Linked DNA regions of Homo sapiens: regions 2, 3 and 4 are each linked to region 1. The links are contacts of gene promoters, found by promoter capture Hi-C in blood cells and fetal thymus (Javierre and others, 2016). All regions are on one chromosome and are shown on one strand. The core of a region is centred on a gene start or on the middle of the fragment in contact, and the rest is flanking DNA. Distances in the headings are between cores, read along the strand shown.

Evidence for each region. The method cuts DNA at HindIII sites, captures the fragments that hold promoters and counts their contacts. A CHiCAGO score of 5 or more calls a contact.
Region 2: a contact is called between a fragment that was not itself captured here and the fragment with the promoter of VHL in region 1, in 1 of 17 cell types (activated CD4 T cells). The highest score is 5.8, in activated CD4 T cells.
Region 3: a fragment that was not itself captured here is called in contact with the fragment with the promoter of VHL in region 1 in 3 of 17 cell types (total CD4 T cells, total B cells and activated CD4 T cells); the score reaches 5.4 in total CD4 T cells.
Region 4: a contact is called between a fragment that was not itself captured here and the fragment with the promoter of VHL in region 1, in 1 of 17 cell types (neutrophils). The highest score is 5.7, in neutrophils.

What each region holds. Positions count from the first base shown.
Region 1 is chr3:10,140,110-10,143,027 of GRCh38, forward strand. VHL (von Hippel-Lindau tumor suppressor) reads left to right here and starts at 1,669. Exons shown (of 3, transcript NM_000551.4): 1 at 1,669-2,078. The coding sequence starts at 1,739. It also overlaps the pseudogene LOC124906359. RefSeq lists an enhancer at 2,586-2,918. The HindIII fragment of the contact is 16,438 bases long and covers 1-2,918 here.
Region 2 is chr3:9,968,714-9,971,493 of GRCh38, forward strand. It overlaps EMC3 (ER membrane protein complex subunit 3), which reads right to left. Exons shown (of 8, transcript NM_001394674.1): 6 at 1,869-1,948; 7 at 1,006-1,088. Among named protein-coding and RNA genes, the nearest start is that of EMC3, 17 kb to the right of the region's middle. The HindIII fragment of the contact is 571 bases long and covers 1,012-1,582 here.
Region 3 is chr3:9,903,077-9,906,087 of GRCh38, forward strand. IL17RE (interleukin 17 receptor E) reads left to right here. Exons shown (of 16, transcript NM_153480.2): 2 at 321-336; 3 at 956-1,075. Among named protein-coding and RNA genes, the nearest start is that of IL17RE, 1.7 kb to the left of the region's middle. RefSeq lists an enhancer at 1-645. The HindIII fragment of the contact is 3,209 bases long and covers 1-2,855 here.
Region 4 is chr3:10,327,238-10,330,132 of GRCh38, forward strand. It overlaps ATP2B2 (ATPase plasma membrane Ca2+ transporting 2), which reads right to left. Exons shown (of 23, transcript NM_001001331.4): 23 at 1-1,888. The coding sequence ends at 1,577. Among named protein-coding and RNA genes, the nearest start is that of MIR378B, 1.5 kb to the right of the region's middle. RefSeq lists an enhancer at 1,047-1,595. The HindIII fragment of the contact is 4,701 bases long and covers 1-2,895 here.

The sequences.
Region 1 (2,918 bases), core at 419-2,918:
GCACTTGGGAAAACCAAGGCAGGCAGATTACCTGAGGTGAGGAGTTCAAGACCAGCCTGGCAAACATGGTGAAACCCCGTCTCTACTAAAAGTACAAAAATTACCTGGGTGTGGTGGCACACACCTGTAATCCCAGCTACTCCAGAGGCTGAGGCACGATAATCACTTGAACTCGGCAGATGGAGGTTGCAGTGAGCTGAGACTGAGCCACTGCACTCCAGCCTGGGTGATAAAGCGAGACTGTCTAAAAAAAAATTATTTTTAACTAATATAAAACTCTCTGAACCCTTCTTTTTCTGAGCTGCTTCTCCACTTGAGTCCATCCCACATCATTGAACATTTAATTACACAGAATTGTGTACCATCTTCCTTGACCCCCAGATCTTTAGCCTTCTATAGTACCCTGTCTCTTTTTGTCGTACTAGTCACAGTTGCACTTTTTTTTTTTTTTTTTTTGAGACAGAGTCTCATTCTGTCACCCAGGCTGCAGTGCAGTAGCACAATCTCAGCTCACTGCAACCTCCGCCTCCCGGGTTCAAGCAATTCTCCTGCCTCAGCCTCCTAAGTAGCTGGGATTACATGCGCGCACCACCACGCCAGGCTAATTTTTGTATTTTTAGTAGAGACGAGGTTTCACCATGTTGTCAGGCTGGTCTAGAACTCCTGACCTTGTGATCAGCCCACTTCAGCCTCCCAAAGTACTGGGATTACAGGCATGAGCCACTGCACCCGGCCATAGTTGCTATTTTATTTGTGTGATTGATTACCGTATGACGCTTTTATTGAAGTGCAGTGAAGGCAGGAAACATGACCGGTTTTTACAATATTTTCAACACTTATCACCATAGGTGGTACATAGTAGGGCCTTAATAAATATTTGTAAAATGAACAAAGTTAATGAGTGTTTATGTTTGTAGTTTTAATTGCTCTGAAGTAAATATCTGATTTTCCAATTTCCACCAGAGTGCTCTGCACATAGTAGGTCTAATTATTTTTCCCTCTTTACTAATCACCCATGCCTTGTAAGAATTCAGTTAGTTGACTTTTTGTACTTTATAAGCGTGATGATTGGGTGTTCCCGTGTGAGATGCGCCACCCTCGAACCTTGTTACGACGTCGGCACATTGCGCGTCTGACATGAAGAAAAAAAAAATTCAGTTAGTCCACCAGGCACAGTGGCTAAGGCCTGTAATCCCTGCACTTTGAGAGGCCAAGGCAGGAGGATCACTTGAACCCAGGAGTTCGAGACCAGCCTAGGCAACATAGCGAGACTCCGTTTCAAACAACAAATAAAAATAATTAGTCGGGCATGGTGGTGCGCGCCTACAGTACCAACTACTCGGGAGGCTGAGGCGAGACGATCGCTTGAGCCAGGGAGGTCAAGGCTGCAGTGAGCCAAGCTCGCGCCACTGCACTCCAGCCCGGGCGACAGAGTGAGACCCTGTCTCAAAAAAAAAAAAAACACCAAACCTTAGAGGGGCGAAAAAAAATTTTATAGTGGAAATACAGTAACGAGTTGGCCTAGCCTCGCCTCCGTTACAACGGCCTACGGTGCTGGAGGATCCTTCTGCGCACGCGCACAGCCTCCGGCCGGCTATTTCCGCGAGCGCGTTCCATCCTCTACCGAGCGCGCGCGAAGACTACGGAGGTCGACTCGGGAGCGCGCACGCAGCTCCGCCCCGCGTCCGACCCGCGGATCCCGCGGCGTCCGGCCCGGGTGGTCTGGATCGCGGAGGGAATGCCCCGGAGGGCGGAGAACTGGGACGAGGCCGAGGTAGGCGCGGAGGAGGCAGGCGTCGAAGAGTACGGCCCTGAAGAAGACGGCGGGGAGGAGTCGGGCGCCGAGGAGTCCGGCCCGGAAGAGTCCGGCCCGGAGGAACTGGGCGCCGAGGAGGAGATGGAGGCCGGGCGGCCGCGGCCCGTGCTGCGCTCGGTGAACTCGCGCGAGCCCTCCCAGGTCATCTTCTGCAATCGCAGTCCGCGCGTCGTGCTGCCCGTATGGCTCAACTTCGACGGCGAGCCGCAGCCCTACCCAACGCTGCCGCCTGGCACGGGCCGCCGCATCCACAGCTACCGAGGTACGGGCCCGGCGCTTAGGCCCGACCCAGCAGGGACGATAGCACGGTCTGAAGCCCCTCTACCGCCCCGGGGTCCATTTTGCAGACGGGGAACTGAGGCCCCTTGAGGCAGGACACATCCAGGGTGACGCTGCTCGTAAGCGTCAGAGCATTCTTTTTTTTTTTTTTTTTTTTCTGAGACGGAGTCTCGCTCTGTCGCCCAGGCTGGAGTGCAGTGGCGCGATCTCGACTCACTGCAGCCTCCGCCTCCCGGGTTCAAGCGATTCTCCTGCCTCAGCCTCCTGAGTAGCTGGGATTACAGGCGTGCGCCACCGCGCCCGGCTGATTTTTATATTTTTAGTAGAGACGGGGTTTCACCATGTTGGTCAGGCTGGTCTCGAACTGCTGACCTCGTGATCCGCCCGCCTCGGCCTCCCAAAGTGCTGGGCTTATGGGCATGAGCCTCCGCGCCCGGCCCAGAGCATTCTTTATAAGGCCGAATAGTTTGCATTTGAAGGTGGCTCCCCCCAGTCCCCCACCCCACGTGTATTTTCCCCTCAAAGAAAAGCTGCATCCTTAACACCCCATCTGTTCAGTCCTCATGACTCCAGTGGGCCAGTTCTGCGTAGTCCCTGCCCTCGTGGAGAACACATTCCTCCTGGGGAGACTGACAGATGCAAAGACAGGAACAAGCCAGGGTCATGTTGGCGCCGGAAGAGCCGACCGTGTGTGGCGTGGGAAATTGACTTACCTGCCTGCTGGGAGATGGAGGGGTTGCGGTTGTGTGGTTTCAGTTAAGGAGCACTTCCCGGAGAAGGAAGAGAGCAGGATGGAGTAGGAACTAGCCAACCCTAGGTAAGA
Region 2 (2,780 bases), core at 47-2,546, 170 kb before region 1:
GGCTCACTACAGCCTCCGCCTCCCAGGTTCCAGTGATTCTCCTGCCTCAGCCTCCTGGGTGGCTGGGATTATAGGCACATGCCACCGTGCCCAGCTCATTTTTGTATTTTTTTTTTTTTTTTGAGACAGAGTTTTGCTCTTGTTGCCCAGGCTGGAGTGCAATGGTGCAATCAATCTCAGCTCACTGCAAACTCCACCTCCTGAGTTCAAGCAATTCTGTCTCAGCCTCCCAAGTAACTGGGATTACAGGTGCCCACCACCATGCCCAGCAAATTTTTTTTTTGTATCTTTAGTAGAAAAGAGGTTTCACCATGTTGGCCAGGCTGGTCTTGAACTCCTGACCTCAGCTGACCCACCTGCCTTGGCCTCCCAAAGTGCTGGGATTACAGGCGTGAGCCACCGCACCTGGCCCATTTTTGTATTTTTAATAGAGACAGGGTTTCACCATGTTGTCCAGGCTGGTGTCGAACTCCTGAACTCAGGTGATCTGCCCACCTTGGCCTCCCAAAGTGCTGGGATTACACGTGTGAGCCCCTGTGCCTGGCCGGAACTTCCCTTCTCTTTTAGTTTCTATCATGAAACACAGTGAGATTTTGTCCCACAAAAATCATACTAAATTTTGCAAATTCTAGAACCTTTTTGTGAAAAGGCTCTTAGTATTGTTTTTTTAATGCAATTTATATCTGATGTCTATGGGGTTCAAAAAGGTTCAAATTATTCTAAATGTTTACCTGGCACCTCCGATTGGATTATTTTACAGCATCATTGATAGTGTGGATTAAATTCCAGTGAGCATTTAAAAACCAGTAAAAGCACCAAGAATTTCCATTTACTTAATAGATGATTCTGTCTCAGGAAAGAGAGACGTGTAAACTATGTTTTTACTAAGTTTAAATTAAAACGATGGAACCACACAACACTCCCTTCAAGGAAGCTATTTTTAAAATAGCTCTTGGTAACACCTTTCAGAGCATTGCTGCAGCTTTGAAAGGTGAAGGAGTATACCTTGAAAGCTTTGTTTGTGTCTGCGGGCATGGCCATGGCTGCTCCCGTCATCTGCTCCTGCATCATTCGTGATTGGTCAGCGGCTGTAGCATAAGACACACTTACATGAGTGCCAGGACTCAGCAAGCACCCCAGCACCCAAGGGGAAGAATGGGCTTCACACAGATTAGAGAACTGGACTACAGCCTCACTGGCTGGCCCTGTCACCCACTGGCTATGTGACTCTAGGAAAGTCACTTTGTGTCTCCTGAAAAATGGGGACAGTAACAGCAAAAGAGAGATCACTAAAGGAAGCTCTAAACTTTATTTCAAATTTCAACAATAACAGCCACCAGTTATTGAGCAACTACTGCATGCCAAGTACTTCACTAAGTGCTTTGCATATTTTTCCTCATCTGTTCCTAACAACCCCACAGGTTAACTAATAAAGTCCTTATTTACAGATAAGTAAATAGAGAATTCGAAGTTAAGTAACTTGTTAAGTAACTTTTCTGAGGTCCCAGCCAGTAAACAAGAGAGCAAGGATTAGTACTGGCAAGGGCTCTAGTCAATGAACTGACAAACCAAGCCTTCTTTAAGCTTTAGGTTCACAGGCTTACACTGCTGGTGCTGGATCCCTCACATGATGGTATCAGACTCTGGGGAATCAAAATACTGTCCCAGTCATTGCCAGAGAGAATTGAGATCTTCAGTTTGACCCCCGGAATTTTTAAGACTCTTTCAGAATACCTCAGAAACTTAAGGAAGGAAACATTTTATTTGACTATGGTAACAAACAGCACAACCTACAAGACTTTTCTGGCTCTAATATGGATGATTCATCTATGGAAGTATTTGCTTAGTAAACCTGACATGCTTCTTACCATTATCTTGGCCCAGAATCAGAGAGTAAATGCTCCGAAGCCCAAATACATTGAGGAAGTACCAGGATGCAGAACTCACCCTGGCAAAGCAAAATGAAAATGGTGTGGTTAGTTATTATATCAGAGAGTAATGCAGTTCCCACTTCCCTACCACCCAAAGTTGTTCAGTGTTTGTAAAGAAGTCACCTTGGATGGGCTATATTCATCCAAAGCACAACCACAGAAGAAATACAAGTTGTTAAAGCAGTCTCACCAATACAGAACTATATTTCAAAAAATCCAAAGGTGACTCCCATTCTGAATTCCATTCCCTAGAGGAAATCACAAGTGTTGGTGTGTTCCATACTTTTTTTTTTTTTGAGACGGAGTCTCACCCTGTTACCCAGGCTGGAGTGCAGTGGCGCAATCTTGGCTCACTGCAACCTCTGCCACCTGGGTTCAAGAGATTCTCCTGCCTCAACCTCCTGAGTAGCTGGGACTACAGGCACACACCACCATGCCTGGCTAATTTTTATATTTTTATTAGAGATGGGGTCTCACCATGTTGGCCAAGCTGGTCTCGAACTCCTGACCTCAAGTGATCCGCCCACCTCAGCCTCCCAAAGTGCTGGGATTACAGGCGTGAGCCACTGGGTGTGTTCCATACTTACAAGAAGGGATGAGACATGGATTTCAGGAAATACAGTACCGAGGACTATAGCTACTGGGAGAGCCATTCCAAGTTTTGAACTATATCACTGAGGCTTCCTTTAGCTTAGGTTTCCTACTCAACCTCCATAAAATAAATATGCTTGCATATAATAAAAACTAAAAACAAAAATGCATATGGGAAGTGATAGATAAATGGAAAGATCCACACTCATTCCAACAAGTGGGTCACATAAGGGCAAGAGTCTATTCTGGTTACTCCAT
Region 3 (3,011 bases), core at 1-2,500, 240 kb before region 1:
TGCCAGGTAGGGACACCTGCCTGGCACAGCCATAAAGCTCCCCACTCCCCTGCCTGCCCTGTGCTACCTCCGCAGTCCCTGTGCTCTGGTGGCAGCTTTGATGTGTCCTCTACCTAGTCTCAAAGGGGTAGCCAAGGTCCTTTGTGCTGAGGGCCTGGACAGGGTGGAGCTGGGAAGATAAGAGCCAGAAGGTATGGGCTATTAGCTATGGGGCTCAGAATTTGCTGATTTGAAGCAAAGACCCCAGGAATGTGCCTTATGGGAGTCTCTCCTAATAATAGCTCTTTCCTTTCTTTTCCCTACTGGGCCCTGTGCCTCAGGATGACAGTTTCACTGGTGAGTCGCATTTCCTGCCCCATTGCTCCTCCCCACGCCCACTATTTTTGCAGATGCCTAGCAAGCCCTCCATTCTAATTTTCAGTTCCCAACCCGGGAAGTAGCACAATATCAAGGAAAAATTTGGAATCATGACAAGCCTGGGTTCACATTGCAGTTCTGCCAGACTCCCGTGTGGCCTCAGACTGTGCACCTAACCCCTCCAACTGACCCTCAGTTTCTGAGGGGTAGTAGCATAGTAGAAATGATTGTACACTAAAGGCAGTGTTGCTTCTGATCTGTAGAGAGGATTAGATGAGAAACATGAGTAAATCTCCAGGTTCTCCATATATGTTGGCTCCTCCCCTTAACTGATCCCTCACTTCTATCAGTAATACAACAATAATCCTTCCTATTTTATGGTATGTTCTACTTCACAAGACATTTTCCCATACACTACAATTTTGATTTTTATAACAGACCCGCTTTATGAATGAGGAATCTGATCCTTAGACAGGTCCTGTAACCCCCAAAGTCATACTTCCAGGATGTGACAGAGCTTGGCCTCAAATCCAGCTTGTTGGAGGTAGGAGGGACCTTCTTAGACCCTATCATTTGCTTTCCCTTCCATCTTTCCCAGGAAGTTCTGCCTATATCCCTTGCCGCACCTGGTGGGCCCTCTTCTCCACAAAGCCTTGGTGTGTGCGAGTCTGGCACTGTTCCCGCTGTTTGTGCCAGCATCTGCTGTCAGGTGGCTCAGGTATGAGAAACAGCCCCTTGGGCCATTCTCAGTGAAGAGAACATTTTGAGGGACCACCTAGGCTGAGCAAGTGGGACTTACTAGAACAGATATTTGTCTTGTTTTAACCTCAACTGGGACTTGGATTATCCTAAAATAGCACGCTATGACTGATATTCACAAATACAATTGTACAATTTTATGAAGGTTTTTTTTCAGCTGAGATTCTTGGAATTAAAAGCTATGGATTTATTGTTATTACCATCTATTTGTAGAGCAGGATCTTCTTTCTTACTCTATATTTTAATTGCTCAGCTCAGTGCCTGGTACATACTAAATGCCCTTACATTGCTTAAGAATTGGCAGTTTCTAGGCCAGGCGCGGTGGCTCACGCCTGTAATCCCAACACTTTGGGAGGCTGAAGCAGCCTGATCACCTGAGGTCAGGAATTCGAGACCAGTCTGGACAACATTGTGAAACCCCTGTCTCCACTAAAAATACAAAAAATTAGCAGGGCCTGGTGGCAGGCACCTGTAATCCCAGCTGCTCAGGAGGCTGAGGCAGGAAAATCACTTGAACCCAGGAGGTGGAGGTTGCAGTGAGCCGACATCATGCCATTGCACTCCAGCCTGGGCGACAAGAGCAAAACTCCATCTCCAAAAAAAGAATTGGCAGTTTCTGGGCCAGGTATGATGGTTCACACCTGTAATCCCAGCACTCTGGGAGGCCAAGGTGGGTGGATCGCTTGAGTCCTGGAGTTTGAGACCAGCCTGGCCAACATGGCCAAACCCCATCTCTACAAAAAAATACAAAAATTAGCTGGATGTGGTAGTGCACACCTGAAGTCCCAGCTACTTGGGAAGCTGAGGTGGGAGGATCACCTGAATTCAGGAGGTGGAGGTTGCAGTGAGTTAAGATAGCGCCACTGCACTCCAGCCTGGATGACAGTGTGAGACCCTGTCTCAAAAAAAAAAAAAAAAAAAAAAAAAGAATAGGCAGTGTTTAATTTTTCTAATTGTTTGTTGTTAGAAATAATGCTACAGGGCTGGGCACAGTGGCTTATGCCGGTAATCCCAGTACTTTGGGAGGCTGAGGCGGGCAGATCACCTGAGGTCAGGAGTTTGAGACCAGCCTGGCCAACATGGTGAAACCCCGTCTCTACTAAAAATACAAAAATTAGCCAGGTGTGATGGTGCATGCCTGTAATCCCAGCTACTCAGGAGGCTGAGGTGAGAGGATTGCTTAAGCCCAAGAGTTCAAGACTGCAGTGAGCAGTGATTGTGCCACTGCACTCCAGCCTCCATGACAGAGCAAAATCCTGTCAAGAAAGGAAGGAAGGAAGGAAGGAACGAAGGAAGGAAGGAACAAAGGAAGGAATGAAGGAAAGAAAGAAAAGAGAGAGAGGCAGGGACTGGCGTGGTGGCTCACGCCTGTAATCCCAGCACTTTGGGAGGCTGAGGTGGGCAGATCTTGAGATCAGGAGATCGAGACCATCCTGGCTAACATGGTGAAACCCCGTCTCTACTAAAAGTACAAAAAATTAGCTGGGCGTGGTGGCAGGCGTCTGTAGTCCCAGCTACTCTGGGGGCTGAGGCAGGAGAATCGCTTGAAGCCAGGAGGCGGAGATTGCAGTGAGCCAAGATCGCGCCGCTGCACTCCAGCCTGCGTGACAGAGCAAGGCTCCGTCTCCAAAAAATAAAAATTAAAGAATGCTAAAATGAATATCTTTGTATATATAGCTTTTTCTCTGCTTAAGAAATTAATCTTTTCTTGATTGCTTTATAATTTTCAAGATTAAAGAAGCTTGACATCCTTACCCTCCTTGATTTAAAACGACTTACTATCAGGCCGGCTCATGCCTGTAATCCCAGCACTTTGGGAGGCCGAGGCGGGCGGATCACCTGAGGTTGGGAGTTCGAGACCAGCCTGACCAACACGCAGAAACCCCGTCTCCACT
Region 4 (2,895 bases), core at 80-2,579, 190 kb after region 1:
CCTTTTCTCACCTGTGATACTGTAGGGTTTCAGAATGGCTTTCTGTTTGGGAAAGCAAGACTTGCTGTTAAAAGGCTACAGTATATATTGTGACTACAGGAAGACAATTTGGTTTAAAATCACACTGAGTACATCTCAATATACACATCATAAGGTTCATTCGGATCTAAATAGTGCAGAGAAAAAGGCTATTCTTCTTCAAAAATAAAAATAAAAGCAGCAAGCCATACTGATCCTCATCCAATATGCCAACAGCTCAGATGCTGCCATTAATAAGGAAACAAACCTGTAAGTTACTAAATAAAAAAAAAAATCAACACAATACCATTTATAATATTTCAACACTACCTCAATCTCTGTACAGACAGTGCCAAAGAGAACCTATTTTTGAAATGCTCTTAGTAAACTCAAGCGAGTTTCATTGAGAGAAAAGTCTTCGAGCAGTGCTTTGCAGATCCTGGCATCCTTGGGCCGGATGGCCGTTAGTGTTGCAAACCCAGGAAGCCTTCTCTCCTCCTCTCCCTTCGTCTACGGAGCATGTTGTTAAACCCCTCAGGATGGCAACTCGGTAGCATTTGGCTTCTGCCTGAGCCTCTCACGGTAGTGACATTATTGAACGGAAATAGCAGGCAAAAATCAGAGCATGGCTATCATAAAACATCCAGGATGCAACCCAGGGGAAGTGTCTGTTGGGCCGAGCTGTTTTTATAGCATCTCAGCCACCAGTGTTCTTAAACCATACAAATAGCCAAAGACGTTATCTACAGGTTTGTAAACAAATTACATTCTTCTTTTAGGACATAAATAAGTTAAAATAGAGCAATTTAAGCGGAAACAAGGCAACATGCCGGCAAAGAAACTTTATATATCCATGTATATATATTTATATATATATATATATATCTACCTATCTATATGGACGTATACAGTCTCGGAAAAGTATACGTTGATATAGATACAAAGAAATGGATATAACCTTGTGAGTGTCTATGAAGTTCTTCGGTTCCATTGGTGCAAATCTACTAGGCGAGTTAAGCTCTGCAATTTCAAAAAGTTATTAAATTAATCTATACAACTGAGACCATGCTGTGCAAGCATTTCAAAAACTCACAGACCAGTGGATTGGATAAATAGTCTCAGAAAAGAGTCTGTTTGCAGTTCCCGCCTAAGAAAACAAACAAACAAACAAAAACCCCTCCCCAACCCCCAAAAACCAAACAAGGGGAGGATTGAAAGTGTACAGTACATTCATGCGGGGGACGTGGTGGCTGGGCGGGTGCATGGCTGGTCCATGTCTGGGTGGGAGCCAGGAAGGGCTTGTTTTGGGAAAACCGCTCACTCCCGTAAGCCCCCAGTGGAGATCCCGCCCCTTGCCTTGAAGTGAAAAAGAGTTCAAACAGCATCGCAGCCAGAGAAAGGGTCTGTGGGTGGAAACGTTGGTTTTCTCTCCAGTATTTGGTTTCCGATTGTTGCTCGTTGCTGCTTGGGTGAGTTGGGTGCCTGGATGGATGGGTGCCCGGAAAGCGGGTGGCAGCGGGGTCCATGAGGGCGGGCGGGCAGGCGAGAGGGTCCTCAGCTAAAGCGACGTCTCCAGGCTGTGGATGGGGCTCCCTGGACTTGAAGAGGTAGCTGATTTGCTTGTGTCGGTCGTCAGGTTGATCCCACTGTCGATGGCGCTGTTGTTCTTGTTGAGGGATGACGGCGGGCTCGAGTTCTGCTTGAGCGCGGCATCTTCTTCCAGGTCGGTGTCATCAATGAGGGGGATGTGGGGCTGGGAATCTTCGATCCGGAATTCAGGATGAGCCATGAAGTTATGGATGGAGGTTCGAGATTCAGGCTTTTCTAAACCTTCATAGAGAGAGCTACGGAACGCCTTCACGACGCGGATCTGCAAGGGAAGCACAGGGGTCAGGAGCACTGCCCAGGGACCACAGCCAGGCTCGGGGGGCTCACAGGAGGGGCGGGTGGGAGAAGGGTTAGGGCAAAGCAGGTGGCTGGAATCCATAGTCGCTGGGTGTTATTAGCATTGACAGGATGGGGGAGAGTGAAAAAGGGGGCTCAGGTTATAGGCATCCTTGAGCTGGTTTTTAAAAATCTCTTTGGTTTTGGTAGAAACTAGTGTTAGGACAGGAGGAATCACCAAGCACCATCAAAGAGATGATGGGGAACAGTGGTTAAAGGAAGCACAGTCGACTCCTGCGGGCACCCACACCTAGTGAGAGACTGAGCCTTGTTCACTTTAAAGCAGAGGTTCAACCATGCAGACAGGGAGGAGGACCAGGTGGGAATCAAGTAGGAAAGAGGAGAGGCTATTAAAAAAATTCATCTTAGGAAAACCACACACAGTTAAGAAACCATACAACATGGAACATGTTACGTGTCACAAACAGAAAAGGCACAGAAAGGAGAGACGGTTGGATGAGTTGGGATGAGAGAGACACATGAGGGCCAAACAGAACGGGAACATCAAACCAAAGGCAGCAAAGCAAACCAAAGCCAACCCAGGGCTTTCTGAGGTGCAGAGCAGAGGCAGCCAGAAAGCACATGGGAGCTGGCGGACAGATGACATTCGGGGGCGGGCTGCATGCCACGGGGAGGCCGGGAGCCACATGGCACACACAGACAGACACACGGCTACACTTGGAAGCCTGGACAATGTGAACGGAGGTCGTTTGTACCCAGCGTTTCTTTCCTTCATGCATTTGGGAGGTAAACACTCGAGTATAGACTCAAAGCCCTGGCCGGCCAGTTATTGGAGCTTGCTTTGGGGTCTCTTATTTCCTGGGGGATTTTGTTTATTTCTTTATTTGTGCTTTGAAAACACAAAACCAAAAAACGAGGCTGGAATCAGATGGCCAAACCCAGCCCCAGTGGGATTCTGGGGTGTGTGGAACT